2 separate regions of the Homo sapiens genome follow, and region 2 is linked to region 1. The links are contacts of gene promoters, found by promoter capture Hi-C in blood cells and fetal thymus (Javierre and others, 2016). All regions are on one chromosome and are shown on one strand. Each heading gives the region's core, a stretch centred on a gene start or on the middle of the fragment in contact. The rest is flanking DNA. Distances are from core to core; before and after follow the strand shown. Region 1 holds the start of PPP1R16B (protein phosphatase 1 regulatory subunit 16B). Region 2 overlaps PPP1R16B (protein phosphatase 1 regulatory subunit 16B).

Region 1 (3,039 bases), core at 105-2,604:
GTGATTCAGAGGCGGCACCTGGTGTCCAGAGCCGCGGAGAGCTGGGGGGCTCTTCTGACAGTGAAAACAGGGGCCCTTTATGTGAAATGCAATCACATGGGCGCGCAGGCAGCTCGGTTTTCGGTTCCTAGAAGCGCTGATGAAGCCACATCCCTCTCCCTCCGCTCCTGAGGTGCCCGGGAGCACCGGGACCCAGGCCTGGCGCGCGGCAGCGGCGCAGCCCTGGGGTCTCAGGAGGGCCAGATTCAAAGCTCTCCCAGGCTCAATTATCCTCCAAGGGCTGGGAGCTGCATCATCAGCATCTCCAGTGAAGCTGGAGGCCGGGCCGGGGTGGGGGAGCGGAGGAAGGGAGTCTACATGGGGGAAGGAGGAGGGCAGCGAGCGCCTGCCTCCCGGCTCTCCACCCGGGGCGGTCTGGGCAGCTCAGCCTGGGCACTCCGGGTGACCTTGGGGAGACCCCTCTGGGCGACCTCTCAGGGGCGGCTGCACGTCTCCGCCCATCCTCGGCGCCCGGGGGCGCTCCTCTGGGCCGGAATCGATGAGCCGGAGTCGCCCAGAGGGGAGCGCTCCTGGCGCGGGGGACCCAGCCGCCGGCGCACGGGGCCCTGGGAGAGGCCGGGCGCGCCCCTCCCGGGGAACTACCACTCGCGGGGTCTCCCCGGGCTGGCTGGTGCTGTCAGCCGGATCCTGAGGCGGGGCGGGTCTGCAGGTGGAGGCGCCTGCCTTGGGGATCTTTCCCGCCCGGGCAGGAGCGCTCTCTGCGCCCTGCCGCTGCCCGCCAGGACCAAGCCCCGCCACGCGAGGGGGCGGCACCACCATGCCCGGCCGGGAGAGTGCGCGGGGGGGGGTTGTTTGGTGTCCGCTGTGGCTCCCGCCGCCCGGCATTGCACCCCCGGCAGACGGCGGCCCCATGAGTCCAGAACAGACCGAGGACCCCACCTCCCCGCCCCAAGATCGGTCTACGACGGCCGCAGCCAACAACCTGCCAATGCGCCCCCTCCCCTGGCCTCGTCAAGGAATTGCGAGGCCGGGGAGAACGCCCCCATTCCAGCCCGACTCCCGGACCTAGCGCTCTCGGTACCCGTCTTTCCAGAGTCCCCACACTCCCATTTATCTCAAGCTATCGTCCCTTGGCCAAAGCGCCCCGGCCCCCAGCTAGGTGATAGCAGGCTGGGACCACCTCCCCGCCCCATCCTCATCCCCCGCCCTGCGAAGCCGCAGAGCGCAAGGAGGGTGGTGGCGCCGCCGGGGAACTCACCCGCTCTCCCGAGCCCTGCCCCGGGCGGCTCCCGACCCCGGCTGTGTCTGTGGGTCCCCGAGCCGCAGCTGCTCCAGCGGCGACAGAGCTGGCTCTGCTCGGCCGCGAGCCTCCGCGCCGCCTCTCGGCTCCTCCCCCAAGGCGGGGCCTGAGCTCCTGGGACTGGGGTGGGCGCGCTCAACCCCATCCGGCTTGGGAGGCAGCGCGGGACAGGGTCCCGGCGCTCTCGGGTGGGGACCCCTCTTCTGAGCTGCAGGAAGTTGAAACCGGTTGGGACGTGGCCAGGCTTCGGAATAGTTTTCCTAACGCTGCCCCCTCCTCCAAAATAGTTTTCCTAACCCCCACCCCGACCATGGAAAGAGGGAAGCCAAGGACGGTATCCCTGCTCCCATTTGACAGACGGGAATCCTGAAGCCCAGAGAGGAGTGGTAACCTGCTCAAGGTCACACAGAATGAATGCCAGGGCCAGGAACTCAGGGTTCCTAGCTTGAAGGCCTGCGCGGCCTGAGTCTGAAGGCTTCCCAGGAGGTCCAGGGGCCGGCCCTGGCCTTGCGCTGGGGACAGATCTGTGGGGCCAGGTCCCCCAGCTGCTGGGGCCGAGACATGGGGGCTGTGGCCTGCGGTGTGGACTCGCATCATTTCCTCTTTCTGGAAAGAAGGGAGGTGAAGCGCTGGAGGAAGGAAGTGGTCGTACCTCTGCTGACGTCTGACGCCCTTTGAGATGTGCAGGATGAAGATAGGGGCTGCTTCCCTGAGATTTAACGCTAAAAATAAAAAGCAAAACATACCCGGTGGCTTCTGTCACCTCATTCAAGCCTCTTTCTGGGGCTGAAGGCCTCTGCACTCTGTGCACCAGCCTTTCTTTACAACACAATGGGTTTAACTATTTAAGTTGCTGAGAGTCACCCCCCACCATCACCACCCCAGGAAGAGAAAAGAAAGTTCATAAACAAAGCAGAGAAAACCTCCCCAAACATTCTCTGGAATCCACATTTGCTGAACCCTGGCCTTAGAACAATAGGTTTCTCTTCTCCACAAAGGCCTTGTTTCCTGAGCTTTCCCGGCCTACAGATGAGAGCCCTAGGCACCCCAGGGCCAGCCAGCTGGGGAAATTCAGAGTTTAAGTTTGGGGAGTTTGGGGATGGTACCCAGTTAATTTGATTCTCAGCTGTCATGTTTGAGGAACTCGCCCGAATCCTTTTTTTTTCACTGGCAATATTCTTTTGAGGCCACCAGCATCACCTGAGTTTAGTGATTTTCTGTTTGCTCAGTCACCTTTCTTGGGGGAGAGAAAATCTGTGGGTTGAACTTGTTCCAGGCCCCCAGGCCCTCTCCAGGAACTCTGTAAGCCCCCTTCATTGGCTCCCTGGCTCCCTCTCAGTTCATTAATAATCCAGTTGTGAATGACACTGTTTCAGGAAAAGCAATTAGACAGTAGAGCATGTGGGGAAGACTTAAAGCCATGTTTAAAATAACCCAAGGGAATCATTGTTCTCCGAAGAATGTTTCCATTGATTGATAATGAAGAGCCATGGGCTGAGAGGATGGGAACCCATCTCTCCAAGGCTTGTGTGGCACTTGGGGCCTGTGTTCCTAAAATAAGGCCTTTGGAGGGAGGGGGCTCCCAACTCCAATGTCATGCTGTTCATTCACCTCTCACACTGTGTTCGGTATCAAAAGTTAAAGTAAATTCAGAATAAGTTGGGGGACTCACAAGTCCTGATTTCAAAACTTACTAGGAAACTTCAGTCATCAAGGCAGGGTGGTACGGGTATAAGGAT
Region 2 (3,171 bases), core at 650-3,149, 92 kb before region 1:
TGAAAGAGTCCTTGGGGTAGGGCATGGGAATCTGTTTTAAACCCATGCCCCAGGTGATTGTAATACCGATCAGCTTTGGGACCCACTGACCCAGGCTGGCACCACTTTCCTTGTCCTCTTAGCACCATCACTGATCAGGCTGTGGCCATCTGATGCTCCTAGCAGAATTAGCCATACTCAGGTTCCCATCAGAGACATAGGCACAGGCCACCATCCAGTCCTTTGGCCTAACAGCCCTCCACTGTGACTTCTCTGAGCTTTCGTACACCCCAGAGCAAGTTTATCCAGCTCTCTGAGCTGGGGCAGCAGTACTGTCATATCCATCCCCCCGGGAGCCAACGATGGGCTCCTGCCGCTCTGCCAAGACCAGTGCAAAAGGTTACCTGCCCTGGGCCACTCTCTCTGACTCCTTGCCCTCAGATGATCAGCCCCCTGGTCTGGCTCTGTCTCAGCTCTGGTACTTAAAACCCCTGGCTTTCTTCCTGGCTCCCCAGGACTTCTGCATCCCTGTGTGCCCAGTGCCCAGCTCTGGGTGATACCAATTATTATTTAGGTTGGTGCAAAAGTAATTGTGGTTCTTGCCATTACTTTTAAGAATCACAATGATTGTTGTTGTTGTTGTTGTTGTTGTTGTTGTTGTTTTGAAACAAGGTCTTGCTCCATCACCCAGGCTGGTGTGCAGTGGCTCAAACTCAGCTCACTGCAACCTCCGCCTCCCAGGTTCAAGCAGTTCTCCTGCCTCAGCCTCCTGAGTAGCTGGGATTACAGGCGTGCACCACCACGCCCAGCTAATTTTTGTATTTTTAGTAGAGACAGGGTCTCACTATGTTGGCCAGACTGGTATCGAACTCCTGACCTCAAGTGGTCCACCCATTTTGGCCTCCCAAAGTGCTGGGATTACAGGTGTCAGCCACCTGTAATCTCCAATGATGTTTTTTGCAGACTAGAATAGCTTACTCTAAAATTCATAGGGAATCTCAAGGAACCTGAATAGCCAACACAACCCTGAAAAAGAAGAACAAAGCTGGCGGATTCACACTTCCTGATTTCAAAACGAACTCCAAAACTCTAGCATCAAACAGTGTGGGGCTGGCATAAAGACAAACATATAGACCAATAAAATAGAATAGAGTCCAGAAACAAACCCTCACATACACGGTTAAATGATTTTAGACAGGGTACCAAGGCCATTCAATGGAGAAAAGACCAACCATCTTTCCAACAGATAGTGTAGGAAAATTGGATATCCGCATGCAAAAGAATGAAGTTAGATCCTTACCCAATACCATATATAAGATTTAATTCAAACTGGACCCATGACCTAAATGAAAGACCTAAAACTATAAAACTCTTAGGAGAAAACATAGAACAAAACCTCCATGATAGTGGATTTGGCAGTGATTTCAAAGACATCCTATAGAATGGGAGAAAATAGTACGTCTATCTGATAAGGGATTCATCTCCAGAATACATAGAGAAATCCTAAAATTCAATGACAAAAACCCAACCCAGTTCAAACATGGACAAAGGACTTGAATAGACATTTCTCCAAAGAAGACATACAGATGGACAACGGGCACATGAAAAGATGCTCAACGTCACTCATCACGAGAAAAATGCAAATCAAAACCACAGTGAGAGACCACCTCACATCTACTAGTATGGCTACTAACAAAAAAGAAAAAGCAGAAAATAGCAAGTGTTGGTGAGGATGTGGAGAAACTAGAATCCTTGTGTACTGTTGGTGGGAATGTAACATGTTGTGGAAAACAGTATAGCAGGTCCTTAAAAAATTTAAAATAGCATTACCATACAATCCAGCAACTCCACTTCTGGGTGTATAACCAAAGGAATTGGAAGCAGGATTTCAAGAGATATTTGTACACTCATGTTCGTCACAGCATGATTCACAATAGCTAAAACATGGAGGCAACCCAAGTGTCCATCAATGAATGGATGCATAAGTGAAACGTGGTATAGACATACAATGGAGTACATTCAGCCTTAAAAAGGAAGGAAACTCTGACACATACTACAACATAGATGAACCTTGAGGACATTATGCTAAGTGAAATATGCCAGTCAAAAAAAGACAAATACTGTATGAATCCACTTCTTGTTTTTTTAAGATGGTGTCTCACTCCGTCGCCCAGGGTGGATTGCAGTGGTACAATCTTGGCTCACTGCAACCTCAGTCTCCTGGGTTCGAGCGATTCTCCTGCCTCCACCACCTGAGTAGCTGGGATTACAGGCGTGAGCCACCACACCCAGCTGAATCCACTTTTCATTTATTTATTTATTTATTTGAGGTGCAGTTTTGCTCTTGTTGCCCAGGCTGGAGTGCAATGGCATGATCTCAGCTCATCGCAAACTCCGCCTCCTGGGTTCAAGCGATTCTCCTGCCTCAGCCTCCCAAGTAGCTGGGATTACAGGCATGCACCACCATGCCCGGCTAATTTTGTATTTTTAGTAGAGATGGGACTTCACCATGTTGGTCAGGCTGGTCTCGAACTCCCGACCTCAGGTGATCCACTTGCCTCAGCCTCCCAAAGTGCTGAGATTACAGGCGTGAGCTACCGTGCCCGGCCTTTCTGAATCCACTTCTATAAAGTGCTTACAGTAGTCAAATTCATAGAGACAGAAAGTAGAATGGTGGTCGCCAGGAGCCAGGGGTAGGCAGGGAATGGGAATTACTGTTTGATGGGTACAGAGTTTCAGTTTTGCGAGATGAAAGTCATTCTGAAGATGGAGAGTGGTAATGGCTGCACAACAATATGAATGTACTTAATACCACTAACCTGCACACTTAAAATGGGTAAGATGGTATTTTATGTTATATGTGTTTTATCACTATAAAAAATTGGGGGGAAAGGGAGAATGAAAGGAGAAGAGAGAAAATAAAAAGAGACTGGAAAATACAGAGACAGACCAAGAGTGAAGGAGAGACAGAGATAGAAGAAGAAAAGAGCAGAACAGGCACACAGAGATGGGGAGAGTAAAGGGGAACTGAGGGGAGGAGAGGGTGAGAGGTAGAAGCAGAGAGAGAGATGAAGAGAGGATGTGGGGAGAAAGAAAGTGACAAGCACCAAGAGAGACTGAGAAAGAGTGACAGAGAGAGAGAAAAAAAGAGAAAAGAGAGGAAGGAAGAAAAGCAGAAAAGGAGGGAAGGAG

Evidence for each region. Contacts are between HindIII fragments. The CHiCAGO score rates a contact against its expected background, and 5 or more counts as called.
Region 2: a contact is called between a fragment that was not itself captured here and the fragment with the promoter of PPP1R16B in region 1, in 9 of 17 cell types (total CD8 T cells, total CD4 T cells, naive B cells and 6 more). The highest score is 22.9, in total CD8 T cells.

Annotation. Positions count from the first base shown.
Region 1 is chr20:38,804,012-38,807,050 of GRCh38, reverse strand. It overlaps PPP1R16B (protein phosphatase 1 regulatory subunit 16B), which reads right to left and starts at 1,354. Exons shown (of 11, transcript NM_015568.4): 1 at 1,259-1,354. RefSeq lists silencers at 305-654, 715-934, 1,125-1,504 and enhancers at 1-736, 1,765-2,034, 1,317-2,178, 2,179-3,039. The HindIII fragment of the contact is 16,329 bases long and covers 1-3,039 here.
Region 2 is chr20:38,896,282-38,899,452 of GRCh38, reverse strand. All of the region lies in intron 4 of PPP1R16B (protein phosphatase 1 regulatory subunit 16B), which reads right to left. Among named protein-coding and RNA genes, the nearest start is that of FAM83D, 29 kb to the left of the region's middle. The HindIII fragment of the contact is 8,801 bases long and covers 1-3,171 here.